4 separate regions of the Homo sapiens genome follow, and all the other regions are linked to region 3. Evidence: promoter capture Hi-C in human tissues and cell types (Jung and others, 2019). All regions are on one chromosome and are shown on one strand. Each heading gives the region's core, a stretch centred on a gene start or on the middle of the fragment in contact. The rest is flanking DNA. Distances are from core to core; before and after follow the strand shown. Region 1 has its middle 32 kb from the start of MSX1. Region 2 overlaps LYAR (Ly1 antibody reactive). Region 3 holds the start of STX18 (syntaxin 18). Region 4 overlaps LOC101928306 (a long non-coding RNA gene).

Region 1 (7,493 bases), core at 4,584-7,083, 350 kb before region 3:
TATCACTTGACCCCGTCAGTTGACACATAAAATTAACCATCATGCTATCTCAAAACCTTAATTTCATCACAGGTGCGAATTCCCTTTGCCTATAAGGTAACATACTCACCAGTTCTTGGGATTAGGACGTGAACATGTATGGAGGCCATTATTCAGCCTACCACATCATCACACCTTAGGAACACAACCAATGCTAGTTACCAAGACACCCATATTCATTAGTTTGTTTTTTCATCTATTCTAGAGTGCCTCCTGTATGCCTGGCGTGGTTCTGGTCATTGCAAATAAATTTACGATGTCTGCTCTCTAGGGGGTGAGAAAAGAAACATCTGAACCGTTGTAAAAGGAAATTGAAAGTTTATATTTCTTCAATGCCTACCATATGTGATTAGTTTTCTATTGATCCTGTAACGTATTACAAAGAACTTGTGGCTTAAAACAACACAATGTCTGGAGCTGCTGCCACCAAGTCCAGATCTCCTTGCCATGTGCCCCCGATGGCCACCCGATGTGCATTCCCGATTCCTTTTGGTTTGAAGTCCAATATGGCAATTCTCAAGGATCAGCTGATTCATAATCTTCTAAAGGAAGAACAGACCCCCCAGAATATGATTATAGTTGTTGAGGTTGGTGCTGTTCACATGGCCTGTGCCATCAGTATCTTAGTGAAGGACTTGGCAGATGAACTTGCTCTTGTTGATGTCATGGAGGACAAATTGAAGGGAGAGATGATGAATCTCCAACATGGCAGCCTTTTCCTTGGAATGCCAAAGATTGTCTCTGGCAAAGACTATAATGTAACTGCAAATTCCAAGCTGGTCATTATCACAGCTGGGGCACATCAGCAAGAAGGAGAAAGCTCTCTTAATTGGGTCCAGTGTAATGTAAACATCTTTAAATTCATCATTTCTAATGTTGTAAAATACAGCCCAACTGCAAGTTGCTTATTGTTTTAAATCCAGTGGATATCTTGACCTGTGTGGCTTGGAAGATAAGTGGCTTTCCCAAAAGCCGTGTTATTGGAAGTGGCTGCAGTCTGGATTCAGCCCAATTCCGTTACCTGATGGAGGAAAGGCTGGGTGTTCACCCATTAAGCTGTCATAGGTGAGTTCTTGGGGAACATGGATACTCTACTGTGTCTGTATGGAGTGGAGTGAACGTTGCTGGTGTCTCCCTGAGGACTCTGCATCCAGATTTAGGGACTGATACAGATAAGGAATGGTGGAAAGAGGTTCAAAAGCAGGTGGTCAAGAATGCTTATGAGGTGATTAAACTGAAAGGCTACACTTCCTGGGCCTTTGGACTCTCTGTGGCAGATTTGGCAGAGAGTATGATGAATCTTAGGTGGGACACCCAATTTCCATCATGATTAAGGGTCTCTATGGAATAAAGGATGATGTCTTCCTTAGTGTTCCTTGCATCTTGGGACAGAATGGAATCTCAGACCTTGTGAAGGTGACTCTGACTCCTGAGGAAGAGGCCTGTTTGAATAAGAGTGCAGATACTTTGGGGGATCCAAAAAGAGCTGCAATTTTAAAGTTTTCTGAGATCACACCACTTCACTGTCTAGGCTACAACAGGATTTTAGTTGGAGGTTGTGCATGTTGTCCTTTTTATCTGATCTGTGATTAAAGCAGTAATATTAAGACAGACTTGGAAAAGCATCAATTCCTAAAGTTAGAAAGAGGCATGGTTTGTAAAATCCTACAGCTATATCCTGATGCTTCATGGTACTAATCTCGCATAGTCCTATAAGTCTACCACCTTTGAGGCACCACTGCCAATGCTGCAAATGCTGCAGTTACCCCTTGAGCCAGATGGATGTTTACTGTGTGTTATATAACTTCCTGGCTCCTTCACCGAACATGCCTAGTCCAACATTTTTTTCCAATCAGTCACATCTTAGGATCCAGTGTATAAATCCAATATTGCATGTCTTGTGCATAATTGTTCCAAAGGATCTTATTCTGTGGACGATATATATCAGTCGTACACATTGCCGTATAGTGCAAAAAGAAACATCTACATATAAACAATGCAACCAACTATCCAAGTGTCATACCAACTAAAACCCCCAATAAACCTTGAACAGTGAAAAAAAATAAAAATAAAACAACACAATAGATATTCTTATAGTTTTGTAGGTCAAATATCCAGCACGGGTCTAAATCAAGGTTCCAGCAGGACTATGTTCCTTTTTGGAGGCTCCAGGGGTCAATCTGTTTCCTTGCCTTTTCCAGCTTCCAGAAGTCACCTCCATTTTTTTGTTTATGACCTCCTCTTCCATATCAAAACCACCAATTGTGGGCCACAATCTTCTCAGGTTACAATGGGTCTGGTTCTCTCTCTTCTGCCTCCCCCCTCCACCTATAAGGACCCTGTCGATTACATCAGGCTACCGAGATCATCCCAGATGAGCTCCGCATCTCAGGGATGGCTGATGAGCAAGCTCAATTTCACCTGCTGCCCTAATTCCCCTTTGCCATGAACCTAATGTAGTCACAGGTCCAGGAGATCAGGAAGTGGACATCTTTGGGAGCCATTATTCTGCCTACCGCAGCATGTCACACCCACTGATAGCATTTTTAAAGTATTATCTCATTTAGTCATCAGAACAACCACGTAAAGTAGTACTGTCATCATCCCTATTTTGCAGATGGGGAAATGGGGTACATGGCGCTTATGTAATTTTCCCAAAGTCACATGGCTGATAGTGATTATATTTGAAACCAGAGAGTTTTGGTCTAAAACCCCCTCCTATAAACACTGCACCATGTTGTCTCATATGTAATGCCTACTACATGCCAGTCCTGTGCTCTTTTATAAACTATAATAAGCTAGCAGTTTCCTTAATTTAAAGAAACCCTTAACTTTCAAGTTTGCAACACAGAATCTCCATCAAGGAAGGGGTTTGGGACCTCACAGTCCCAATCCTCTTGACTTCATGGATGATGCTGGTTTCTGCTACCATGATCCACCTCTCTGGCCTAGGGGAGATGGGTTGTCCCCCTTAGACAGCCTCACAGAGCCAGATTAAGAACCAACAAGGCCAGGCATGATAGCTCATGCCTGTCATCCCAGCACTTTGGAAGGCAGAAGTGAGAGCATCAGTTGAGCCCAGGAGTTCAAGACCAGCCTGGGAAACAGTGAGACCTCACCTCTACAAAGATAAAAAAAACATTAGCCAGGCATGGTGGCATGAACCTGTGGTCTCAGCTAAGCTACGGTTGCCCCACTGCACTCCAGTCTCAGTATCAGAGCAAGACCCTGTCTATAAAAGGAAAGAGAGAAAAAAGAACCAACAGCTGAGCATGTCTCTGAAGCCATCTATGAGAGGGACCAGATCATTCCAGGGAGAGTAAGATGGAGGGAATTATATTTAGCAAAATTATCTCAAGGGCAGTGTGACAGGAAAGAATTCTTTGAGGGGCCTCCTGGATTGAAAAATAAGACCCCCAAAGGCAGGCTTGATGATCAACAGATGGTTGATCTAATCTTATTAGAGGGGCCTGAGTTAATTATAGTTTTATTTTATTCTGTAAAGCCTGCAAATTTGGGCCAGAGCAGAACTGTTCTGACAGCAAAAGAGATATAGAATCAGGGTTCCTACTTCCCCATATCTGCCACTCCTACCCCCAGATGAATATGAAGGCAACATTTAGGGAACATGAGTTTGGAGGACAAACTCTTTGCTTGCTCAGGGCCCCTACACATTTTCGCTGTCTTTACAGAGATTCTTCCCTTTAAAATCCCATAGCACAGTTGAGACATGAATAAAAGGTTCTATTTTATCAAGATTTTTTTCCCTAAAGTCCAAAATAAATATGGAGAGGAACATAAAACAGCATCATCTCAGCAGGCTATGTCATCCTGGCTTCTGACCTGCTCTGCTTACCATCTTAGCACCCACTGCCCGAAAGACCACCCTGCCAGACACACCTGCCCTTGAGGAATGATAATCTGTAGTGATTCATGCAAGTCCCCCGCTACCAGCCCAGGGCCCACCCTCCAAGATTCAGCTTCCCAGCTGAAGATACAGCTCTTCATTTGATTAACACTGGAAGGGCCTTTTAGAGATAATTAGGTAGTGGGGCTCAGAAACCCCTACAGGAAAACACCATCTCCACCTAGCCCCTCATTCATAAAAGACAAACACACACACACACACACACACACACCCTAGGAAGAAGAAGACCACAGAACACACACAGAATCCACACAGTAACTCCTCCGAATAACTCATCAAAATGAGTACCATTAGCTCTTTTTACAGAGCAGTAAACTGAGGCTCGGGAAACAACGTAATTTCTCCAACCCACGCAGTAACTAACGAAGCCACAGTTTGATTAAGCTTTCTCAGACTACAGAAACCACGCTGCCTCCCCATGATAAAGGAAAAAAATAAATAAATAAGTGCACACAACTGTTTTGGCATCAGTAACCCACACCCTTCTCATTTCACTACTTAATATTCAAATGCAGAGAATTTCCACACTGGAGAATCAAAAGCCCAGAGATTTTCCCTAGAAGGCCTCAGAGCTTGATTTTTCACAAATGGCCCCAAGGATGGAAAAAGTCTCCCAAATTGAGACTGGCAGGAGAGCGGGACCCATTTTGTCTGATTTTTCTTCTCTCCTTTCTTGGCATTAGCAGGCTTAGCTCGCGCCAGTGGAAAATTCCCAAGTGCCAAGCAGTTCTCAGATAATCTGCACGCAAAACAAAACAAAATTAAAAAAAAAAGAAAAGCCTTTCAACAGAGGCAGCTCATGAGGGGTTAAGGCGAGCCTGCAGCCAAAACATAGATTTTTTCAGATACTTGACGTCTTTTTCATGTTGATCAGGAGGTTTGTGCCCAGCCACAGCCTATAATGGCTTCAGTCCATCACTGAGACCGGTACTGGGTCAGACCAGAGCCTGCCTTTGGACTCAAGAGGGTCCCAGGTCCAGATAGTTTGACCTCTGCCAGGCTCAAGAGGGTCCCAGGTCCAGATAGTTTGACCTCTGCCAGGCCTGGGCCTGGAAATTCCCTGTGGGAAAGGACAGGAGCTGCCTGGGAGGGCTGAGGAAGAAGGATCTGTGCTGGGTTGGACTCAGGGATGACAGATAGATGGACAGAGGTGGAATTTGGAGAGGGTGAGAAAGAAAGAGAGAAATATTGACTGTCGAGGAGTCCCTATGTATATCCTAGAAGACAAAATCTAGTATAGAATGCTCTATTCATAAGACAAAAGATGTATTAATCCTATCAGAGTGCAATCATATTAACAATAACATTTGCATATAGTCATTTAGCCAATATTTATTAAGCACCTAAGCATCAGGCAAGAATTTGACAATGGGCAGAGTAGCCTGGGTGCCTGCTGGCAGAGAGCTTTCATCCTCACCGTGGAGACATGCAGTAAAATTGACAGTGACGTAGCAGACTTCAGTGCTATTGAAGGGGCCATGGGAGTGCACAAGACAGGGAAATCTGATGTTTATTTGGATTTGATGTTTTTACAAAACATGCTCCCCCACTGCAGTTCTTAATCTTTTAAAAAAAAAAAAAAAACCTTGTAAGGTAGGCATTACTGTGTTATCATCAGAGTCATCCCATGTTGGAGATGAGGAAACTGAGGCTCAGAGAAGTGGAGGAGCACACAGGGCAGCCCAGAAGCTAGGTGTGCCTGCCCTTACGTCTGAGATGCCCTCCTTCGGGACAGCGCCGGGCTCCTCTGCTCACCCGCTGAGGGCAGGTGGGCAGGGCCTGCCGCAGCTGGGGCTGGCTTACTCCTCGTTGTGAGGAAGCAACCTGCCTGCCATCCGCTCACTCAAGGGTCTTCTCAGCGAACTCAGTAGGTCTGAGAAACAGACATGGAAGACTGAGTCAGACCCACCAAGGTGTCCTCTGATCACCCCTGTTCCCCTTGCCTTCCCCAGGCTTAGCATTATAACAACCCTGCTTCCCAGGTCAGGAGATCCCTAGGTAGTTCATAAACACAGCCCAGTTCTGTGACACCTTATGCCAAAGACCTGTAACTCAACACAGGCTCTACCTTTGCCCACAGGCATGGGAAGATGCCTTTTCAGAGGGCACATCATTCTTCCCCTCCACTCCTTCAATCCTAGCCCCTGGGGCTAGCGACGGGCAGAATTCCTGGGGAAGAAGGACCACCTGAGATAGTACATCTTGGGGAAGGCTGCAATGACCTGTTCTCATTCCCTCTGCCCCAACAAGTTGTAAATCGGAGAGAGCTGAGTTCTAACCTGGCTTCACCATTTGTCTTAGCTCCAGCTGCTATAACAAAGTACCACAGTGGGTGGCTTATCCACAATGGATGCCTATTTCTCACAATTCTGGAGGCCGCCAGTCCAAGATCAAGGCTCCAGCATGGCCAAGGTCTGGCGAGGGCCCCCTTCTGGGTTGCAGAATCCTGACTTCTCCTTGGATCCTCACATGGTGGAAAGAGGGGACACTGGCTCTCTGGTCCCTTCTCATAAGGCACGAATTCCATCATGAGGGCTCAGCCCTCAACACCTCATCACCTCCCAAAGGCCTCACCTCCAAATGCTGTCACATAGGGGGTTAGATTTCAGCACATGAATTTGAGCTTGTTGGTGGGCTATGTAGGCATCTCTTGACCTGGGAACTGGGATTTTTATAATGTTGTGGATTTCAGCATATGAATATGGACAGGCACTTGACCCATAACCCCACCTTAAACCTGGGTGACCCTTGCTAGGATCTGTTACCCTTTGAGCCTTGGCTTTCCTACCTGTTCAGTGGCGACACCTGCTGCTAGTTGAGTGGCCCTGAGTCTGTGTCTGGTGCACGTGTCATGGGCTCAGCACAGGCTGCTGTTAGGGAGTTCCTTCCCTCCATCCTTGACAGCAAGGACCACCTCACTCCCTAGTCCCGGCACCCAGTGTCGGCCAGGCATAGAGGAGGCACAAGGAGCATTTCCTTTTGATTAAAGTTAGTTCATTTTATTCTGCCTTATTCTTTACCTTGGGGCTCTGTGGGAGGGGACCTACGTGGGATTTGGCCACATGGCCCCAGACCATGAATAGATCCATTAGGTTACATTTTCCAGTCTCAGAGATACATGCCCAAAGGAAACGAAAACCAGAGGTTGGAGTCAAGAGACCTAACTTCTAGCTTGGTTCAAATTCCAGCTTCATCACTTGCCAGCTTCATGAGTTTAGCAAGTCATTTGCTTTTTCTGGGCCTCTGTTTCTCAATCACAAGGTTGGGTCCCAAAGCACTACTCCTCCCTGACACTCCCAGAGGTCTCCCTAGTTCAAGAACAGGCCAGGAGACTCCCTCTGGGTCTGCTCTCCTCTATCCTCTATGTTGGGGGCCAATGCTGGTTTCAGAGCCGTGACTCTTCACCAGGACCGTGTAACCTGAAGCACATACAGAACCTCTTTTAAAATGCCCTGGGATGGAGACCAGGTAGCTTCTGGGATGGAAACCAGGTGGTTTCCACATACACCCTGCATTGAAAACTGCA
Region 2 (7,398 bases), core at 2,359-4,858, 260 kb after region 3:
ATGAACATAAATGGGTGGGTTGATGGTCATATTTAAAGGAGCATGGGTTTAGGAGGGGGCTGGGTATAATAGCATTGATGTGCAAATTAGTAGGTCACAGAGAAACCTTTCTACAATTGGGCAGGGATGAAGCTTTCATATCTGGTGTCTTATTTAACTTTCCACCCAATGCTTTGAGTTAGGTATTAGATCCATTTTACAGATAAACAGATTCTGGGAAGTTAAGGTGCTTTGAGGTCATTTAGTTTTTAATGACTTTTTTGACATTAGCAGATGTAGGCTCCAGCTCAGATCCTCTACACCTGAGTCAGGGCCCTGTCCAACAAAAGCTGGCAACCATCTTGTTAAGAGAAGACTAACAAGTTCCCAGCCCCTTAGTGACCACTGGCTGCTGCCCCTCAGCTAGCTTTGCTGTCCAGACCCTGACAGCCTCTCCTGTGACATGGGTGGTCTCCTTGCCCACTGCACAGAGGTTTTATAATTAAGACTTAGGGTTCTAATATTTATACATGGAAAGTCATCTTATAGAGACCTTAATTTTTTTTCTCTTTGGATGAGGACCTCAAGGTCCCAGGTGCTGAGTAACCACCAAGCAAACGGCTAGGACATGGCAGGTCAAGATGGAGGCAGGGTGGGAGCCTGGGCTTGCTGCCTGGTCTTTCAGGCCACCTCTGCCACTTACTGTGACTTCGGGCAGTTCACTTACCCTCCTGAGCCTTAGGTTTTCTCTCCAGATGGAGGTAGTATGATCATAGCAGTCTTAGTGGTATTGGGGGCAGTTGTGTTCATAAATGGGACACGGCTTTGTAGAGAGCTAATGATCATGTGTTCTATGGTGCAGACCCCGTCATCTTTTTCATGGGTATGGCATGTGATGAGAGCTCAGTAAACTGACCATACAGACAGACGAAGACGCAGCCAGGAGCACACGCAGAGGACCTGCGTGAGGGCCCCAGGTGTATCTGGGTGGATAGGATAGTGTCAGCATTCAGGAAATGTCTGCCGAATTGAGTTAAAGTGACTGAGCAAGAACCGAAGTATGCTCTCAACCAGTCCAAGAACACTGCCTTCTGCCTGCCTTTCTCTTTTAACATGCGCATGTGGCCAGAAGGAAAGCATGTAGAATCTCTCTGGCTGCGCTGGGACTGGACATTGGGCAGAGGGAGTTGGGGAGCCAGGGAAGGAAAAGAGGACTCTATTTAGATCCAGCCCCATGAAAAAACTGCTGTCTTTTTACACTTAGGGCTAGATGTTGAAATCTGTCACATCTGAGCCCGGCAGACTGGGTGTCCTCAAAATCTTAATGCAGTTTTAAGCTTTCATAATTTCAGAAGCATAAATGATCCAAACTTGCCAAAACATCATTTAAAATTTAATTAAGGCCGGGCGCGGTGGCTCACGCCTGTAATCCCAGCACTTTGGGAGGCCGAGGCAGGCGGATCACGAGGTCAGGAGATTGAGACCATCCTGGCTAACACGGTGAAACCCCATCTATCTCTACTAAAAAATACAAAAAATAAGCTGGGCGTGGTGGCGGATGCCTGTAATCCCAGCTACTCGGGAGGCTGAGGCAAGAGAATGGCATGAACCCGGGAGGCGGAGCTTGCAGTGAGCCAAGAATGCACCACTGCACTCCAGCCTGGGCGACAAAGCGAGACTCCTTTCTCAAAAAAAAAAAAAAAAAGTTTAATTAAATTTCCTTCATGCTTATCTAGTCTTGTGGAATTTGAACAATACCGTTTTACTTTTTTGTTTTAGGCAATGTTTGCTGTCTTCCATTGGAGTGACTGAATTTCTACATGACGGCTTTTTGTAAGTTTGTAGTATTTACATTTTTGTTTTAGGCAATGTTTGCTGTCTTCCATTAGAGGGACTGAATTTCCACCTGACGGCTTTTTGTAAGTTTGTAGCATTTACGCTTACGAATATTAAGCCTGCACTAAGACCTGGGACACCCTGTCTGCTGTGCAGTTAGGCTGACTTTGAAGCTTCTGATGGTTTTGAGCTTTTCTTTGAAGCCCAAGCAAGTGTTTATGGCATAAATTACAGGTATTTTCGCCTGGGGCTAGGTTGGGTTTGAGGTGTAATCAAGGTGCTGGACTGTCCTCCAGGCTCTGAATAAAGGAGAGGTAAGCTCCTTACAGACATTAGCTCATTAGCCAAGCAAGTGGACACAGAGCTGTTCCCATTTCATGGCAAGTGTAAAAATCCGGAGGAAGGCAGGAAGAGACAGTTCTGACTTCCTGTGCAATCCACCCATTTGGCCTTAAACAAGTAAAGACCAAATGAAAATGATGTGAGAGTTATTTTTTAGCTGGACATGTAACCAGATTCTAATCACCTTCTGAATTGATATTTAATTACACTGTAGTGTGTAGCCGATCTCCAGAGAGATAGAATGTTTGGCACAGTTACTCTTGAGTATCTTTTTGTCAACATCACTGCTTTCACTGCTTCTTTCAGTCAATATATTTTGTTTCCAGCTTCCTTCCTAGGCCTTTAATTCCTGCTGGGACAGGAATCTCTCAATTCACTCTTAAGCCTTGTCGAAACCTTTCTTCCTCCCATCTCCCACTCCATCCAGAAATAGAATTGTCCTCAGCAACAGAGGTTGGCAAGCTCTAAGCCGTATCTAAGTTTCAGAGACTGTTTTTTGTTGTTGTATCTTATTAGAAAAGTGCTTTAACGTTTTTCAGCAGATAATTTGGCATATCACGGCTGCTTTCACCTTGTGCCTGTGATGACAATCTATTTCTTGGTGACTAATAAGTTATTCCTGCTCTTACACCAAAGTGCACCTCCATGCTCTTTGAGAATGTGATGTTGGCTCTTATTCCAGCCTTTGTTCTCCCTTGTCAGGCAGGATAGCTGCTCTTGTTGCCTGACATGTTGATCATCCCTCTGCCTTTTTTTAGAATGGTAAGCTTTGAGGGAGCTGGGTTGTGGGAAACGTGATTCCAGCTCCCAGGAGCTTGACAATATCACACATCTTTACAGTAAGCAGATGAGAAGATGACAGTTGCTGCAGCACATCGAGGGTAGTCATGTTTTCCTTCCTGAGGATTTGGTGCTAGGTTGTAGCTGACCACATGCTGTCCGTTTACTAACATACACTGATAGTGAGCTGAGGAGCGGGGCCTGGGACCGCGGAATCAGGGGTCTGTGGTTTGTATGTAGCGTAGAAGCTGAGCTGATGTCTGATAGTGTCCCACAGGGCAAGAGGCCTCCACAAGAGACCAGCTGGACCTTTGTGAACCCTGGAGATGCAGCCAGGATGTACATTTCCATTCAAGGCTGAATGGACATGAATAACCTTGGTCGTTGCTTGGGTGTGGCCTCACTGGCAGTGATCCAAAACATGCTGGTGGAGGAGCAACGGTGATTTCATGCATGGGAATTCTCTGCAAACCAAGGGTAGATCATTTGTACTGAAAGCTTGTTGGATGAAGTCCTACCCTGAAGTAAATTGCATCGGTTTACTTGACCCTCACCTTTATTTTCCTAATGAGGAAGAAAGCTCTGGGTTAAACAGTTCTCAGTATTTTTGCTGTAAAACTTATAATGTAAAACAACAATGCTGTTTTAAAATCTAGTGATTAAAAATTATGTAAGTATGGAAAATTACTGTGACTTCTCTAACACTTCTAGACGAATTTGTGTTTTCCTGAGCACGGTAGCATTTCTGTGAAATTTTACAATGATGTTTATGTGCGTGTGCAGACATACTTCTTTTTGGGGCAGTGCTCGGGACACCTGGGTTTGTGAACTCCAGTAATTCAGCACCCAGCAGTTGGGACACCTGGACTTGGTTCCGTTTCTTTCTGACTTGTCTGACAAGCTGCCACATGAAGAAGGCCCCTGTCCATTACAGCTGAGGCGCATGTCCTCATTTTAACCTTTGTAGATATATAGTAATATTGATATGAATGCTTTTAGTGCCATAGAAATTGTGCCCATAGAATTGCCTCTTCTTCACTTTCTAAACTTCACTCAGTTTTCCTCTTGCTGTGTTCTTAGTATATTTGAGGACCTGAAATAGTTTGTAGTGTACACCTAAATTGCAATGCCTTCTATAAGTTTCATATACAGAGAGAGAGTTTAAGGTATTATGGAAAGTAAGATTTAACACCCTCAAAGCTCTTCATCTTGAGAGCCAATCTGCCAGGTTTAAATCCTGGTTCTGTTAACCGTGTATCCTTGGGCAAGTTATGTAATCTCTGTGTCTCAGTTACCTCATATAAATTTTGAACAATAATAGTCCTTCCCTCATAGGGTTACTGCGGGGATTGAATAAGTGAATAAATGTAAAGCCTCTAGAATAGTGCCTGGCACGTGGTAAGGACACAATAAATGTTAGCCATTCTCATTGTTAATGTTAGTTTTACTTATATGAATGGTGGAATTTTATGTAGATTGCTAATCAACTTTGACTCTGTTATTTTCATGTGAAATTATGGTTGAAAAGTTAGGGGCATGAGCCATTTATTGAAATGAGAAGTTTCAGTTTATAATTATAATTGTCTTTTTTTCCTTAGGACAAGACTTAAAACCTGTCTTGGATAGAGAATATTTAGCCATTTACCTAAAAATGGTATTTTTTACATGCAATGCATGTGGTGAATCAGTGAAGAAAATACAAGTGGAAAAGCATGTGTCTGTTTGCAGAAACTGTGAATGCCTTTCTTGCATTGACTGCGGTAAAGATTTCTGGTAAGCTTCACAGAATTCATGTAGATCCATAGTAAATCCAGATCAGTTTTGGAAGCCTTGGCGCCACAAAGCTTGGAAAAATAGTGGCAAATTTGAAGAATGAAATTAAGACTAAAAACTGGTATGTTCCATTGATTAAAACTGGTGTGATTCTTTCAAATGTGCTTTACTAGGCCGGGCGCAGTGGCTCAGGCCTGTAATCCCAGCACTTTGGGAGGCCAAGGTGGGTGGCTCATGAGGTCAGGAGTTGAAGACCAGCCTGGCCAACATAGTGAAACCCTGTCTCTACTAAAAATACAAAAATTAGTCAGGCGTGGTGGTGGGCGCCTGTAATCCCAGCTACTCGGGAGGCTGAGGCAGGAGAATCGCTTGAACCCAGGAGGCAGAGGTTGCGGTGAGCCGAGATTTCACCACTGCACTCCAGCCTGGGCAACAGAGCAAGTTAACCCCTTCTTGGGGGGGAGAAATGTGCTTTACGAAACAATTTGCTTTTTGAGGATATGTTAAAGAAAAGACTAGGGGAAGGGGAATTATGATGATTAGAGTGTTCAGTCAGTTGGTGACACTGGTTGCTATTGCATTGCCACTGTTTACAGACCCAGGGAACTAACTGCGTGGAAGATGGCTCCAGGGGTTTAGAGCCAGTTTCATTAGACCATGGGTATCACATGCCCATCACAGTGGAGAGATGGACTTATGAACCAGAAAGTGAATTTATGAGCTCACAGTGGGGCAGATGACTGGTAGCAGAGGAAACTATGTCCTCCCTAGAAAATCAGAGGTGCTGGTGGAAGTGAGGCTCTTCCTGGCCCCACGGGTGTGTCAGGAGACACTTCCACTGAGGAGGCCTCTGTGAATGTGAGGAGTTAGCGGGGAGGGACAGGACAGATCCTGCCTTAGACACCGGTTCTTCAGGTGGGTCGTTTGCAGAGGGCTCCCCTCTTGAATTTCATGTTGATTCCCCTTCAGCCTCAGAAGGTCCAGGCGAGAAGCTGGCTTCTGGCTGCATCTGCCCCAGTGTCCTCTGAGGCATTCGGATGGTACTGGCTAATACTCTCTTTTAATTCATTCTGGAGCAGTGATTTTTTTTGGAAACTGCTAACCTCTGTTCAGACGTAATCCTAGGAGGAAGCTTGATATATAAAGTAGGTTAAAATTGAGTTTTCATTAGGGGACTTTGCCCTGGACCTTGTCCCCAACATTTCCCTGAAGAACCCCATAGAGCTTTACAAAGATTATATGAGAGAGAATTTAGTTTTCTTTTTTCTCAGGACCCTAAGGGATCCAGAACTGTTGGTAACCTCATGCTGCCATTTTATATCTGTTTTTGATTTATTCTACAACTAATTATTGACTGTCTATTAGACATTGAGATTTTTATAATTTAAAAAAACTACCCTATTGCATAGAACTATTTTCTTGTTTATTCAGTATATGTACACTTATGACTTAAAAAAATACTGCCTATCAATTTAGCTTAAGGTGTTTATAAAAATGGGGGAAAAGTTTGGTGATGGGTTTTATATTGACGACTTTGGAGGAAGGGGGATGTGGTTCTGACCAGGAGGCTGTAAACATAATAAGTGAAATAGATGGGGTGCTTGTGTGATAGACACATGTGAAAATATACAGTGTAGACCACAGAAGATAGTGGCAGCATGCTGGTATTAGCGCCTCCAACTTGGGTATCAGTCTAATGGCAGAACTTTTGATCACTTTAAAGGGGCGATGACTATAAAAACCACGTGAAATGCATAAGTGAAGATCAGAAGTATGGTGGCAAAGGCTATGAAGGTAAAACCCACAAAGGCGACATCAAACAGCAGGCGTGGATTCAGGTAACGTCTCTCTAACTCATTGAGTAGCTTCCTCTGACAGCTTCCGCTTTCTTTGGAAGCCCAAGAGACTAAGAGTAAATGTGTCATCCCTGCAGACAAGCTCTGGAAACCTCATGTCCTAGGATAGACAGGTTGAACTAAAACCTCTTGAAAAAGAATTCTTTGGCTGGGCATGGTGGCTCACGCCTGTAATCCCAGCACTTTGGGAGGCCAAGGCAGGCGAGTCACGAGGTCAGGAGTTCAAGACCTGCCTAGACAACGTGGTGAAACCCCATCTCTACTAAAAATACAAAAAATTAGCCGGGCATAGTGGCGGGTGCCTGTAATCCCAGCTACTCAGGAGGCTGAGGCAGGAGAATCGCTTGAAGCCAGGAGGCAGAGGTTGCAGTGAGCCGAGGTTGTACTGGGTGACAGAGTGAGACTCCGTCTCAAAAAAAAAGAAAAAGAAAAGAAAGAAAAAAAGTTCTTTATTCTTCTAGCTGTTAAAACAGTTGCGGTGCATTATACCTTTAATCCATGTGTTTTGTTAATTTCTTGAAAAAAAAGTTTTAGAATTCTCATTAGCTTTCCCTTGGCTGTAAAACTAAATGGAAGCTTCTAATCTCTCCCTGCTTCTAGTGATAATGGAGCTTTTATAACTCAAGCCATGTTAATCTGTCACATCTGCCAGTCATTAGAATTAGGCAAAATAAAGATACTTTCGTCAATGCAGAGAATTTTCTACTTAACTAAAACAGCATGAAAACATGCACAGTAGAAATGGCAGAAACATTGACTCCCTAATTCACTGGGAAGTATAACTCTCAGAATGCTACTGATCATTTACAGAATAGGTAGCAGGAGGAAGGAT
Region 3 (7,548 bases), core at 2,317-4,816:
AACATCAGACTCCAAGTTCTTCAGCTTTGGGACTTGGACTGTCTCTCCTTGCTCCTCAGCTTGCAGATGGCCTATTGTGGGACCTCACCTTGTGATCATGTGAGTCAATACTCCTTAATAAGCTCCCCTTTATATATACACCTATCCTATTAGTTCTGTCCCTCTAGAGAACTCTGACTAATACAATGTCCTTGGTTGGCTATGCTCCATGTCATCTTTACTTAAGGACTCAGGCTGATGGAACATTGGAACATTAAGGGTTGTCATAGCAGAGGGAAAAGAGCATCGTGAATCATACATTAGCTCTTAAATTTGCTGCCCAGAAATTACACGTTGGTTTTCACTGGCAGCCTACATCTAGTCTCCTTGCATAGGTGTTGCTGCTGTAGTGAGCTATATTTAGGGGTGCCAATACAGTTGATCCTTGATGACTCCTCCACCCCTCACAGTTGGAAATTTGTGTATAACTTCTGACTCCCTAACATCTTAACTAATAATAGCCTACTGTTGACCAGAATCCTTATCAATAACATAAACAGTCCGTTAACACATATTTTGCATGTCATATGTATTAGATACTGTATTCTTTCAATAAAGTAAGCTAGAGAAAAGAAAATGGTATTAAGAAAATCATAGGAAGAGAAAATATATTTACTATCCATTAAATGGAAGTGGATCATCATAAAGTAAAGGTCTTCATACTCACCATCATCACATCGAGTAGGCTGAGGAGCAGGAGGGGTGGGTCTTGCTGTCTTAGGGATGGCAGAGGCAGAAGGAAGTCCGAGTATTAGTGGCCGCATGCAGTTCAAGCCTGTGCTGTTCAAAAGTCGACTGCGTATTTTTCAGAACAGTGTCTGGCCCACTCAATGTTTGCTGAATGCATAAAGAAAACAAAATTTGTATACTACATCCAACTGGGCAGTTGTGTGCTACCTCCAACAGGCCAGGCATGGTGGCACGCGCCTATAGTCCCAGATACTCAGGAGGCTGAGCCGGGAGGATTGTTTGAGCCCTGGAGTTGCAGTAGTATACTCTCACAACATTTCTGCACATCCTTTTAACCCACATCCCCTCTCAGCTTTATGGGGCTTAATATTAGTCAACTGTCAACTGAAGTCACTTTGCTCTTTTAAATTAAAGAGTAAACACAAAATGTAAAAAGCACAACCCCATATCCCATGGTCTGTGGAAAGTTCAGCAGCCTCCTCAAGATCTTTGTGACTTATTTAGGAATTTTATGTACTTGTGGTCACTTGTGGATTTACAGCCTGATGTTTTGAGCTCACTTGGGTCTTATATCCACCACAATCTTCTCTGCTCTTGCAAATCCAGACAGAAAACTTAGATCTTTGTCCCTACCCTTCTACCCAAAATATCCAACTGCACCAAACACACGGTTTACACAAGGCACCACTCACTGAAGGCTTGGTGTAGTTCAGCCTCCCTCCCACTCAAAGATCCTTCCCAGTTACCTACTTTGTACTTTCCCGGCCCCCTCCCTGGGTTCTGGCTTCTCTTTTCTTCCCCCCAATTCAATCCCCCTCACTTTATTATGCAGGGCAATCTCTCTTTCCTTCTACTCTACCCCAGGCTTAACTTTGCATGGCCAAAAACTGATTAATGTCTGGATTAAACAAAGGGCCATTTATGCAAGATAGAATCATTGGCAGAGATTTTGTAATTTCTTTCTCTTTTCCTCAGTAGGTGGAAGAAAGCTGTATGGAAATTTATTTTCCTTAAACTGCAAGAAGTGGCTACAGTTTGGGTTTAAATAATCTTTTCCTGGCCGGGCGCGGTGGCTCACGCCTGTAATCCCAGCATTTTGGGAGGCTGAGGCAGGCGGATCACGAGGTCAGGAGATCGAGACCATCCTGGCTAACACGGTGAAACCCCATCTCTACTAAAAATACAAAAGAATTAGCCAGGCGTGGCGGTGGGCGCCTGTAGTCCCAGCTACTCGGGAGACTGAGGCAGGAGAATGGCGTGAACCCGGGAGGCGGAGCTTGCTCCAGCCTGGGCGACAGAGCAAGACTCCGCCTCAAAGAAAAAAAAAATCTTTTCCTTCCTCCTTTCTGGTAAATATATACTTTCTTGACATCTATTTCTGATAAACTTTATTTTTTTAACACAGTGGTTCTCAAACTTTTGGTCTCAACTCTTTTGCACACTTAAAAATTATTAAGGGCTCTAAACAATTTTGGTTTATATTGACATTATCGACATTTACTATATGAGAAATCAAAACAAAAACTTGATGTTTTTGAAAGTCTTTTTTTGGAGTCTGGCTTAATAGAAAACAGCTGTTCTGCATTTACTCCGTTGCAATATCACAGTCTCCAGCAAACTCAACTGTATGCAACTCATAAGAAAATCAGAGCGAAAAGGCAAATAACATCTTAGTATTGTGAAAATTTTATCTTGATGACCATTAAAACTGCTGTTTTAATACATATTCTACTTGTGCTTCCTCTTTATGAAAAAAGAAATCTTGAAGAAATCAATGAGATTTTGAATTAAAACTGAACCATAGGCCAGGCACGGTTGCACGTGCCTATAGTCCCAGCTACTCAGGAGGCTGAGTCCGGGAGGATCGTTTGAGCCCTGGCGTTCCAGCTGTAGTGAGCTAGGATGGCGCCTCTGACTAGCCACTGCAATCCAGCCTGGGCAACATAGTAGACCCCCGTCTCAAAAAACAACACAAAACAGAACATGAACCTAAAATGCAGAAGAAACTCATTGATTGAGTTGTCAATTTTAATAGCTATGGCTCAAGACGGTACAATTAAAAACTATGCATGAAGGATGAAGAGAATCCAGCGGCATTAGGGCCACTCTTTCACCTTTGTCTCCATCTAAACTTCCTATTCATCCTTCAAATCTCTGCACAGGTGACGCCTTTTCTCTAAAGCCTCTTCCTTTACCACAAATAACAGTGATTATAATAATAACATTATTAACGATTACTACCATTTATTGGCCACTTACTAGGAGCCAAGCAACATCAAAACACAGCACGCGTCAGCTCACTTAATTTTCACAGTAAACCCCGAGGAGGATGCTGGCTTCACTTTAAAAAGAGGTGACTGAAGGTTGGAGAAGAAAGGCCTCTGGCCTCTAGCTCTGTGCCTTGCACACCTGATCTGTCTCAGCATTTATTGCATCCCGAGGGTCACCGTCCACGTGCCTCTATCCTGCTCAAGGTGAGTTCTTGCAGTCAAAGGTCAAGGGTGGCTCGTCTCCACTTCCCCCGCAACCAAACCGCCCGGTCTCAGTGAGGGAGCCGCCAGAAGGGAAGGAGCCTCCTAGCTTCCCGGTCCTCACGCTCCCGGAGCCCACACGCCCCAAACAGACACAGAAGAGCTCGCTGAGCTCTCCGCGCAGCTAAACCCTCCAAGCTTTGCTGGGAGAAACCGATGCCCGAGAGCGCGTCGCGAGGTTCCTCCTCCGCCAGGTGCGCCGGCTGAGGCCGGAACCTTTTTCCTCCCGCCGCGGTAGCAGGGCGCAGGCCGGAACCTTTCTTCTCGCGTCGCCGTTGCCGGGGGGAGGCGTGTGGGGCAGGACCAGTCCTTCAGCGGCCGGGTTCGCGCCGCGGTCGCCGGCTGCTTACGTGGGCGGGCCTAGTGTGGGGCTGAGGGTGCGGGTCGCTATGGCGGTGGACATCACGCTGCTATTCCGGGCCAGCGTCAAGACCGTGAAGACGCGGAACAAGGCGCTGGGAGTGGCGGTGGGCGGCGGGGTCGATGGCAGCCGGGACGAGCTGTTCCGCCGGAGCCCCCGGCCCAAGGGCGACTTCTCCAGCCGGGCCCGCGAAGTGGTGAGCTGGTTGCTATGGAAACGGCGGGTTGAGGAGGGGGCAGTCCTGCGACAGGGACCCCGGGCCCCAAACCAGACCCCGTCCCGTAAGCATTGTGTGAAGGGGGTGGCTCTAAGGGGGACAGAAGAGTTGGCCTCAGAGACCCTACAGCTTTTTGGGGGAAGGAACAGCCTTATTTTGAGGAAGGGGGACGCATATTGGGGAACAGATTTCTCCTGCGGCGACAGGGATTGGGGGACAAGAAAGGAGATCCTCAGAAATCTCTATCTGGAAAGTGCATGGGCGGCTTTGTGAGGTCATGAGTTCGCCGTCACTACAGACTTGCACTCAGGGGAAACCTCCTGACAGTCCTTCGCTTCCTGTTGCAGCACTGACCACACCATATTTGCCTGTTCTATTTACTTGTCTGCCTCCCACCCCTAGTTGAGATTAAAAACTGTATTCAGCCGAACTCTTTCTTCCCTTTGTCTCTGCAATAAGTAGGACTCAGTTCCTCTTGAGACGGGTTTAGGGTAATCTTTCGCAAACACAGTGTTACAGTCACCTCAACTACTTTCTGTTCCCTGATCAGAGCAGGTGTCCCTTCATCTCCCTGGGAACAGGAACCTTTTCCTTAAGGGCAGGGACAGTGTTGTTTTCATCTCAGAATGCATGACTCATAGCATTGCTTAGTAAATGTTTGTTGAATGAGTGAATGAACAAATGGCTGTCTTTCCCATTAAACAGAAAACTCCATAAGGGGAGAGCTGTTTGTCTTGTTCCCTTTTGTGTTCGTGACACCAAGGAGGTATCTAGGTTTTGTGGGGCCTACAGCTTATATAGTTCTGTCTGCCCTCTTCAAGAAATAAAAATCACCAAGAAAGATTCAGAGCTTTGGAAGATTGAAGAGAGGGACCCTAAAGCTTAAGCCTCATTAATTTCACAGTAAATCCTTCTCTGCTTGGCATACACTTGGCACTGTATAGACACTCAGATATTTTTGAATGAATGTAGTCATGCATGCATTAATGACAGTTAGCAGAGGATACTTAAACATTAGAAAGGGGATTGGACCAGATGAATACACTCGCCCTATTGATGACCGTCTATGAAGCACCTACCTTCTGACCAGCCTCGTGTTAGAGTAATATGATGTAAAAGCAGTGGTGGAGTAGACGGACATAGACATAAAACAAGTGCCATAAAGCCTTGCAGGTGTTGTGTAGGGCACAAAAAGAATGTGGTCAGTTCTACCTGAGGACCAGAAAAGGCTTTATAGAGGCGATGATGCCTAAAACAAATCTTGAAAGAGGATTAGTTGGTTCCAGTGCAGAAGGACATCTCAGGCTAAGAGAATAGTATGCGCTAAGCTGTGGAGGTAGGTAACAGTCTGACATAAGTTGGTTCAATAAACATTTGAGTGAGACTGGAATGTGGGACTCTCATAAAAATTGGACGCGGAGATCTTAAAGGGCTTTGTGTATCATTGCAGAGTTTGAATTTTGCCCTGTAGATGGTCAGATGTTATCTGGTAGAGAAAGCACCAGAGAAGGAGCCAAGAGACGAGGTTGTTGTCTGAACCCTGCAACTATTAGCTATATGATTTCATTAAGCAAGTTTTAAGACCTCAGTTTATTTACCTGTAAATGGTCCTTTTTTTCTCCTCCTCCTTTTAAAAAACTACCTTGGTCCTCTATATGTAACAAATTAAAGTGGGAGCTTCCTAGGTTGAAATAAGAGGAAGAGAAACAGGACACTCTCCCTCCCAGTTTGGCCCAAGCACTTCTTGAGATTCCTTTTGTAGAACTGTGGTATGAATATCACAGTATTGGCTTTTTAAGGGTCCCTTCTAACTCTGAAACCACTGATTTATTAACACTGTGCTAATTTTGAGTCCTGCTCAGGGAAAGGGGGGATTTGGGAATGGTAGAGACAGGAGGCACAGTTGGGTTGGCAAGCCCTTTGGAGAGCCCTGTGATCACTTCCACCTCTCCCTGAGTGGTGAAAATGTGTTTGAGTTTTGAGTTAATGGGCCTCAGGGACAGTAACAGTCCCATAGGGTGCTGAGTTCCCTGTCACTGGAAGTGATTAAACAGAGTGATGACTGCTTTTCAGAGATGTTTGAGAAAAGCTTTGTGCATATGTCACAGGGTTGGACCGCATGACAATGCAACTTGCAGTTCTGCTATGTATTGATGTGAGTAGGTGTCACATCACCTTAAGTGAGTTCATGGGCTGTGTTGTTCAGGGACACTGTCCCCCTGACGTAGAGGAAACATACATTCTTTTAAGCAATTTTGATTTTATGTTGTCATTGCTTTGTGTATTATCTCCTGTTCTTGCAACCGTTCCCCACTCCCCATCTTCTCTTGTGGGAAGTTTAACTAGAAGAGCTAGTGATGGATGTCCTGTGCTTTTACTACAATTAGATGTCAAAAGTTTGGCTGTTATTTTGTTTGGCCTGGATTCCTTATAGAGAAAAGTCTGGTAAATACCAGAAGCACATATTCTAATTCAGGTTTAGCCCTGGTTGTCAGACTTAATGAAATGTAATAAGTTATAGTATGCCTTTTGGTAAGTGCCTTCCTTGAAGCATTTGCTGTTACTTCTAGGATGCGTTTTATCTGGTTCAATTTCTATTCTTCCATTCCATTCCTCAAATATATGCCTGATGCCAGATTTCCATCTCACTGAATTGTTGTAGAGGTTATATTAAGTTGAATAAAATTGCATTGAAACTGCAATTTTATTGCAGTCCCTACCTTCCAACAACAGGCTGATTGCTTCTGCATCATTCTTTTAAACATTTAACTTTTATGCTCAATTTTACTAAATTTATATATACTCAAATGCATGTCTACCCATTAAATTACAAATGGAGAGTAACGACTTTTCAGATTATTTGGGGGAGGAACTTATATTATTCGAACAACTCCAAATAATAATGAATATGTCACTCTGCAATGGGAATTTGATTAGTTAACTCATTTGAAGTGTGGGACTAGTGAGGATGATGGGATTGGAAAGAGACCTGGGCCTTGGGTTCAAATCTCGCTTCTGCTACTTAGAAATGGGTGAACTTGGGCAAGTCTGACTCTCGTTTTCCATTTCTATAAAGTGGACGTGATAATACCCTACTTAACTCACAAGCTAAGTAGGGTAGCTTCTGAGTTACCCTACTCACATAGTCTATATGTATGTATTTTAAAAAAACAGACTGATTATTATTGTTCCCCCAAACTACCTCCCCCCTCCTCATGTAGGCCATTTAGACATATTTTCTTTAGTGGCACCAAGCTGTATTTTCCAAACCACTTAGTTTTCTTGCACTTTCATTCCTTAATTTAGTTAAGTGCGTGAGGAATGAGTGAAAATCCTGAGCAGGTACTGATGAATCAGCGGTGGTGCAGAAGTACTGTCTGCATTCGTAAAAGATGGTAACATTTCTTTGCCAAGGTGAAACTCTTTCAGTGATGGCAGATGTGTGGCAGGTATGCAGCTTTTACTTTCTTTTCTTCCTTGTGATCATGGAAGCCAGTGCTAATTTCTTAGTGGATCCCTATAGCTCAGAATCCTTTGCAACATTGTACCCCAGGAGCCGTTACCTGTTATTAGGCTTGACATTCAAGTTGAAATCTACTTGACATATAGTAACAGTAGAATCTGTATGCTTAAAGCAGACCCATGTTTGTTTGTTTGTGGTTTTTTTTTTTTTCACTCAAAAGGACCTTGTGTTCATTTTGTTAATAGAT
Region 4 (7,466 bases), core at 2,928-5,427, 390 kb before region 3:
CTGCAACCTCCGCCTCCTGGGTTCAAGCAATTCTGCCTCAGCCTCCTGAGCAGCTGGGATTACAGGTGCACACCACCACAGCCAGCTAATTTTTATACTTTTACTAGAGATGGGTTTCACCATGTTGGCCAGGCTCATCTCAAACTCCTGACCTCATGATCCACCCGCCTCGGGCTCCCAAAGTGCTGGGATTACAAGCGTGAGCCACCACACCCGGCCGAAGAAAGGCCCTTCAAGAATGAGAATTTGCTGACCAGGAAAAAAAAAGATGAGAAGTGCTTCAGCGGCAGAGGAAATAGCACATGCAAAGGCCCTGGGGTCTGAAAGCACTCTGCAAGCCCAGCTGGAACTCAGTGAGCGAGGTGGAGGTGGCACCACAGTTGCTCACATTTACTGGGCACATAGGAGGTGCCAGGCACTGTTCTATGGCTTCATAGGTCTTGACTCGGTTAATCCTTCCAAAAGCCCTGCCAGAAGTTTTGGTCACCATTTTACAGACAGAGAAGCTGAGACCCAGGGAGGTGAGGTGGCTAGCCCATGACCATCCAGATTCTCAGCGGCTGAGCCTGGGTTCCATCTAGGGCAGTCTTGCTCCAGGGCCCGTGACTAACCCACGGAGCTGCCTTCCTTAAGAGGGGCTATGGAGGCAGGTAGCAGGCCTGAGAGGCCATGCTAAGGAGGGATGTTTTCCTTTCAAACATCTCTTGCCTTTGCTTCTTAGCATTGACTCCTAATTCTCCTACTTGCTAAGTGGGTTGTCTTAGGCCAGTTACTCCACCGCCCTTTATTTCATTTCACAATTCTTTTTATCATGTTCCTGCTATGTGCCAGGCATGTGCGAGGAGCGGGGGAGACATGCAGTGGTGAGCAAAAGCAGGTGCGCACCTTGCCATCAAGGTCATTGCAGTCCACTTGAGGGAGAGCGTGTTAATCAAACAGTCTAATGGAGGTAAGGCCTGTGAGGGCATGATGCATAGTCCCGGAGAAGCTATATGAAAGGGGCCCCTTCTGGGCTATGAGTCAGGGAAAGCTTCCCTAAGGAAGTTGCACTCAAGCTGAGATTGGAAGGGTAGGCAGGAAATATCCAGGTAAAGTAAGAGGGTTGGGACTGGGCATGGTGGTCCACGCCTGTAATCCCAGCACTTTGGGAGTCCGAGGTGGGCGGATCACCTGAAGTCAGGAGTTTGAAACCAGCCCGGCCAACATGGTGAAACCCCATCTCTACTAAAAATACAAAAAAATTAGCTGGGCCTGGTGGTGCACACCTGTAGTCACAGCTACTTGGGAGGCTGAGACATGAGAGTTACCTGAACCCAGGAGGCAGAGGTTGCAGTGAACCTAGATCACACCATTGCACTCCAGGCTGGGCAACAGAGCAAGAGTCCCTCAAAAAAAAAAAAAAAAAAAAAAAAAGGAAGAGGGTTGGGATAAAAATGGGGCTGCCCAAGGCTGGGCGTGGTGGCTCACGCCTGTAATCCCAACACTTTGGGAGGCCAAGGCGGGCGGATCACGAGGTCAGGAGATCAAGACCATCCTGGCCAACATGGCGAAACCCGGTCTCTATTAAAAATACAAAAAGTAGCTGGGTGTGGTGGCGTGTGCCTGTAATCCCAGCTACTTGGGAGGCTGAGGCAGGAGAATTGCTTGAACCAGGGAGTCAGAGGTTGCAGTGAGCCGAGATTGCATCACTGTACTGCAGCCTGGTGACAGAGCGAGACTCTGCCTAAAAATAAATAAATAAATAATAAAAAGAAAAAGAAATGGGGCTGCCCAGGCACCCAGTTACATTTGAATTTTAAATAGACAACAAATAATGTTTAGCATAACATTATTATATTGCATGAGATGTGTTTATAATAAAATCTTACTCATTGTTTATCTGATATTCACATGTAACTGCACCTCCTGTTTTTGTTTATTCATTGAGTTTTGTTTGTGTATCTGGCAACCTGAGGTAGGAAGGGTATTCAGGACAGAGGGACTAGCATATGCAAAGTGATGATCATAGGACAAAGCACACTGTTAGAGAGAACCTGCAGGGAAACCAGTGTGACTGGGCACAGTAAGCCTCAGTTTCCTCACTTACAAGGTGGAAGTTGTAATAGTGCATAACTCACAGGAGTATATACGTAAAGTGTTTAGCATAGTGTTGGGGCAGAGTTATCACTCAATAAAGGTTAGATGCTATCATGCCTTATCCTTCACCTCCACCATCTTCATCTCCTCTTTTTCTACCAATTCCAACCAATTCTAGATCTTTCTGGACCCTTGCAATTGCCATCATTTAAAAAAAGAGTGGTCAGGTTCTCACCAAAATTATGATTTAAAAAGCCCTAGAAGTTGAAGATTTTGTTTGGTGTCAGCTTAAGCTATTTCTGAAAATGACTCTGCTAATAAATATATTATTATTAGTCCACTTGTGTTGCTGCAAAGGAATACCCAAAGCTGGGTAATTTATAAAGAAAAGAGGCTTATTTGACTCACAGTTCTGCCGGCTGTACAAGAAGCATGGCATCAGCATCTGCTTCTGGTGAGGGCTGCAGGCTTCTTCCGTTCATGTCAGAAGGCAAAAGGTAGCTGGTATGCAGAGATCACATGGTGAAGGGGTAGCTGAGAGAGAGATGGAAAGAGGTACTAGGCTCTTTTCAACAACCAGCTCTTGCAAGAATTAAGAATGAAAACTCACTTACTCCCACAAGAATGGCACCAAGCCATTCATGAGGGATCTACCCCCACAACCCAAACACCTCCCACAAGACCCCACTTTCAACACTGGGGATCAAATTCCAACATGAGACTTGGCAGGGCCAAATAAGCCATATCCAAAAGATAGCATATACTAACATAACGATTGGAAGACAATGACTCAGGAATGAAATTAGCTGCTACAGAGAAGCAGTATGCTACTCGGACATGGTGTCAGTTACCATAGCAGAAGCCCAAGTTAGACACTGACTTCTCCCTTACATATGCAGGCTAGCCAGGCAGCCCCCAAGGTATCAGGAACCCAAGCTTCTCCCAGGATGTTGTTCTGCCATCTCTATGATGTTGTTTTGTGGTCAGCCTCTGATAATTCGAATATCTGACATCTTTGTAGGTCTATTTCTATTGTCTTTTATTTCTGCTGGTTATTCACCATGGAGTCTTTTTTCTTTGTTTGCTTTTTTATTCAAGATTATCCCAGTTAAATAAATGAAGAAATTCTCCCAAAGAGTTCACCAACACATTTGTATTCCAACTAGCAGGAAGAGAAGAAATGGTGCTGGAGAGGGTATAAGGCTTCCCTTTAAGGGCATAACTCAGAGCTTGTATAAGTCACACTCATATCCTTTGGCCAAAACTTAGTCAAAGAGCCACAGTTGGCTGCAAAGAATGCTGCTAAATGTAGTCTTTACTTCAGGGGTGGCTGTGTGCTCAGCCAAAACGTCAGGCTTTTATTACCGTAGAAAGAGGGGAGAACAGATATCAGAACACACCAGCAGTGTGCCAACAGCCAAGGTGCAAAGTCACTTGAAATAGACTCGGCTGGCACATCTTTCCATCTGGGATCTTTTCTACCTACAAGGAATGAGGACCCAGGGGTCCTGGAACCAGGGAGGTTGGAAAGACAGGGATTCCGGGGAGTAGCAAAACATAGAAACAAATCTAGGGATAATTAGGACAAGGAGCTAAATGTGATGTTTAATGCCAGCCACAATGAAGAATAAGTTTTCTACTCTAGTTGCTCATAAATTCAAAACAGCTTCAAGGAAGGAGAAACAGCTTGAAAAACTTTTGTGAGCATATAAATATGGTGACAGAATATGTTATATATTATTTATACACATTGTATGTAGAGAGAGAGAAAGAGAGAGAGAGAGCGAGAAAGACAGAGAGACAAAGAGAAGTGACACCTCAACTAAAATTGGTCTTTATTTTATATCTGTATTTGTGTCTGCCGATTATTGAGCAGTTGAACATTGGTGTTGCTCTTTGTTTGTTTATTTATTTATTGTCTTGCTCTGTCACCCCAGGCTGGAGTGCAGTGGTGCGATCTCAACTCACTGCAACCTCTGCCTCCCGGGTTCAAGGGATTTTCCTGCCTCAGCCTCCCAAGTAGCTGGGATGACAGGCACCCACCACCATGCTCGGCCAATTTTTTTATTTTTGTTTTTAGTAGAGATGGGGTTTCACCATGTTGGCCAGGCTGGTCTCAAACTCCTGACCTCAGGTGATCCACCCGCCTTGGCCTCCCAAAGTGCTGGGATTACAGCATTTTGCTGAGCCACCGTGCCCAGCCTGGTGTTGCTCTTTAAATGAAAGCAAACTTGTGTGCAGTCTCCTCCCTCCTTCACTCCTCAAAGCTTTAGGACATCCCTGCTCTCCACCAGGCCTGGCCTGAAATCAGGGCCAGGATGCAGATGCTGCAAAGACTCCAGCTTCTCCCCCAGGAATATGTGTGCCCCTGGAAAGGCATAACCACTAGGCCTACCTATCGGTTCACAGAAGCACCACAGGGCTACAGGTATTCTGGAACCTTCTGCCATTGTGTATCAACAGTCAGGTGCTCCTGTCTTGATGGCCTGGTAAGAAAATACCCACTCTGGAGGAAGACAGTCCTAGGTTCAAATTCTTCTTCTGAAGCTTCCTATTCATGCGGCCTTATGGGAAAGAGCTTTGCCTTACATATGAGGCTGGTATGGTGTTGAGCAACAGTCTTGGGAACCAGGTGGACCTGGCTGTCATCTTGGCCCTGACTCCTCTAGGGTGACCAACTGTCCTAGTTTGCCCAGAATAGAAGGTTTCCAGAGATGCAGAAATTTCAGTGCTAAAACCACGACAGTCCCAAGCAAATTGGGACAGTTGATTGCCCTGCTACCAGACACATGCTCCAGGGCAAGTTACTTAATGCTCTGAGGCTCAATTTCCTTGCACATAAAAATGGGCCTAGTAATGTCTATCTTGCAGGAGAGCTATAGGGAATAGAAATAGTGCCTCGTGCAGAGTAATCATCAGAATTATTATTAATATTATTAACTTCTCCCCCTCACTGCCTGTGCACCTCTTTTATAATAGCCAGTGTCCCAATTTACCTGAAGGGTCCACATAGCTCCATCAGGCCATTATAAAGCAGCAAAAGTGAAGGGCTTTCTCCCTGATGCATTGTTTTTCTATGCAGGGGTCAAGGAAGCCTCCCAGCCTCCAGGGTTCCCCACATCTCTGGGCCTGAGTGAGCCCTCAGTGTCCCACAATTGCTGAGGCCTTGAGTCAGTTATAAACCTTCCCTCCAACCCCAAGACCATGTGGCTTTGTTCATTAAGGCTGTTGCTTGGCTCTGCAGCTCTGAGACAATGCCGAGTATGACTTTGTCCACCCTCACCTTGATTGCATTCACAAGTACTTCCTAAAATTAATTGCAAAGGAAAAAAAAACAACAAAAACAAAAACCAAAAACCAAAAATACACGTTGGTGTCTCTTTGTTGCAAGAAAAAAAATTCACTATTCATTCCAAGTAAAATTGCTTCATAACTCAATAATTTCATCCAGCCTCCCAGGCCCCCAGAAGGCACTGAAATACTTAGCACGTGGCTAAGTGCAGCACTCAGAGAAGGTGTGAATTTGCAAGAATGTGGAAGTTTCATCCAACTTTCTCAGTTTCATCACAAATGACTGCCTTCCTGCTTTCTAGGCCCAGCCCTCCAGACTTCAGAACAAGAAACAGGCACATTGACTGCAAACCCGAGACCTTTGTGAAGACAGGGAGGGTACTAAAGGAAAAATGCCAAAGCCTTTTGTTTTCTTTTTTTATTATTATTATACTTTAAGTTCTGGGATACATGTGCAGAACGTGCAGGTTACGTAGGTATACACTTGCCATAGTGGTTTGCTGCACCAATCAACCCATCATCTACATTAGGCATTTCTCCTAATGCTATCCCTCCCCTAGCCGCTCATCCCCCAACAAGCCCCAGTGTCTGATGTTCCCCTCCCTGTGTCCATGAGTTCTCATTGTTCAACTTCCACTTATGAGTGAGAACATGTGGTGTTGGTTTTCTGTTCCTGTGTTAGTTTGCATGAGAATCATGGTTTCCAGCTTCATTCATGTCCCTGCAAAGGACATGAACTCATCCTTTTTTATGGCTGCATAGTATTCCATGGTGTATATGTGCCACATTTTCTTTATCCAGTTAATCATTGATGGGCATTTGGGTTGGTTCCTAGTCTTTGCTATTGTGAATAGTGCTTCAATAAACATACGTGTGCATGTGTCTTTATAGTAAAATGATTTATAATCCTTTGAGTATATATCCAGTAATGAGGTTGCTGTTTCAAATGATATTTCTGGTTCTAGATCCTTGAGAAATCACCACACTGTCTTCCATAATGGCTGAACTAATTTACACTCTCTCACTGTGGTTTTGATTTGCATTTCTCTAATGACCAGTGATGATGAGCTTTTTTTCATGTTTGTTGGCCACATAAATGCCTTCTTTTGAGAAGTGACTGTTCATATCCTTTGCCTACTTTTTGATGGGGTTGTTTGCTTTTTCTTTTAAATTTGCTTAAGTTCCTTGTAGATTCCGGATATTAGCCCTTTGTCAGTTGGATAGATTGCAAAAATTTTCTCCCATTCTATAGGTTGCCTGTTCACTCATGCTAGTTTCTTTTGCTGTGCAGAAGCTCTTTAGTTTAATTAGATACGGTTTGTCAATTTTGGCTTTTGTTGCCATTGCTTTTGGTGTTTTAGACATGAGGTCTTTTCCCATGCCTATGTTTTGAATGGTATTACCTAGGGTTTCTACTAGGGTTTTTATGGTTTTAGGTCTTACATTTAAATCTGTAATCTATCTTGAGTTCATTTTTGTATAAGATGTTAGGAAGGGGTCCAGTTTCAGTTTTCTGCATATAGCTAGCCAGTTTTCCCAACACCATTTATTAAACAGAGAATCCTTTCCCCATTGCTTGTTTTTGTCAGGTTAGTCAAAGATCAGATGTTTTTAGATGTGTGGCATTATTTCTGCGGTATCTGTTCTGTTCCATTGGCCTCTATATTTGATTTAATACCAGTACTATGCTGTTTTGGTTACTGTAGCCTCATAGTATAGTTTGAAGTCAGGTAGTGTGATGCCTCCAGCTTTGTTCTTTTTGCTTAGGATTGTCTTGGCTATATGGGCTCTTTTTTGGTTCCATATGAAATTTAAAGTAGTTTTTTCTAATTCTGTGAAGAAAGTCAGTGGTAGCTTGATGGGGATAGCATTTAATTTATAATTTACTTTGGGCAGTATGGCCATTTTCATGATATTGATTCTTCCCATCCATGAGCATGGAATGTTTTTCCATTTGTTTGTGTCCTCTCTTATTTCCTTGAGCAGTGGTTTGTAGTTCTCCTTGAAGAGGTCCTTCACGTACCTTGTAAGTTGTATTCCTAGGTATTTTATTCTCTTTGTAGCAATTGTGAATGGGAGTTCACTCATGATTTGGCTCT

Evidence for each region. Contacts are between HindIII fragments. The study calls those that stand out against the background at their distance.
Region 1: a contact is called between a fragment that was not itself captured here and the fragment with the promoter of STX18 in region 3, in 1 of the 25 tissues and cell types used here (heart left ventricle).
Region 2: a contact is called between a fragment that was not itself captured here and the fragment with the promoter of STX18 in region 3, in 1 of the 25 tissues and cell types used here (dorsolateral prefrontal cortex).
Region 4: a fragment that was not itself captured here is called in contact with the fragment with the promoter of STX18 in region 3 in 1 of the 25 tissues and cell types used here (bladder).

What each region holds. Positions count from the first base shown.
Region 1 is chr4:4,888,226-4,895,718 of GRCh38, reverse strand. It overlaps the pseudogene LDHAP1. Among named protein-coding and RNA genes, the nearest start is that of MSX1, 32 kb to the right of the region's middle. RefSeq lists a silencer at 6,683-6,977. The HindIII fragment of the contact is 8,117 bases long and covers 1,775-7,493 here.
Region 2 is chr4:4,280,933-4,288,330 of GRCh38, reverse strand. It overlaps LYAR (Ly1 antibody reactive), which reads left to right. Exons shown (of 10, transcript NM_017816.3): 2 at 1,759-1,812; 3 at 4,536-4,710; 4 at 6,434-6,548. The coding sequence starts at 4,589. Among named protein-coding and RNA genes, the nearest start is that of LYAR, 5.5 kb to the left of the region's middle. RefSeq lists an enhancer at 1-228. The HindIII fragment of the contact is 5,768 bases long and covers 725-6,492 here.
Region 3 is chr4:4,538,066-4,545,613 of GRCh38, reverse strand. STX18 (syntaxin 18) reads left to right here and starts at 3,566. Exons shown (of 11, transcript NM_016930.4): 1 at 3,566-3,817. The coding sequence starts at 3,650. LOC124900165 reads right to left here and starts at 3,483. Exons shown (of 6, transcript XM_047416490.1): 1 at 3,139-3,483; 2 at 707-876. STX18-AS1 (STX18 antisense RNA 1 (head to head)) reads right to left here and starts at 3,483. Exons shown (of 6, transcript NR_037888.1): 1 at 3,139-3,483; 2 at 707-876. RefSeq lists enhancers at 3,398-3,692, 3,417-3,696. The HindIII fragment of the contact is 5,470 bases long and covers 1-4,059 here.
Region 4 is chr4:4,928,964-4,936,429 of GRCh38, reverse strand. It overlaps LOC101928306 (a long non-coding RNA gene), which reads right to left. Exons shown (of 3, transcript NR_125893.1): 2 at 2,485-2,610. Among named protein-coding and RNA genes, the nearest start is that of MSX1, 73 kb to the right of the region's middle. The HindIII fragment of the contact is 4,312 bases long and covers 2,022-6,333 here.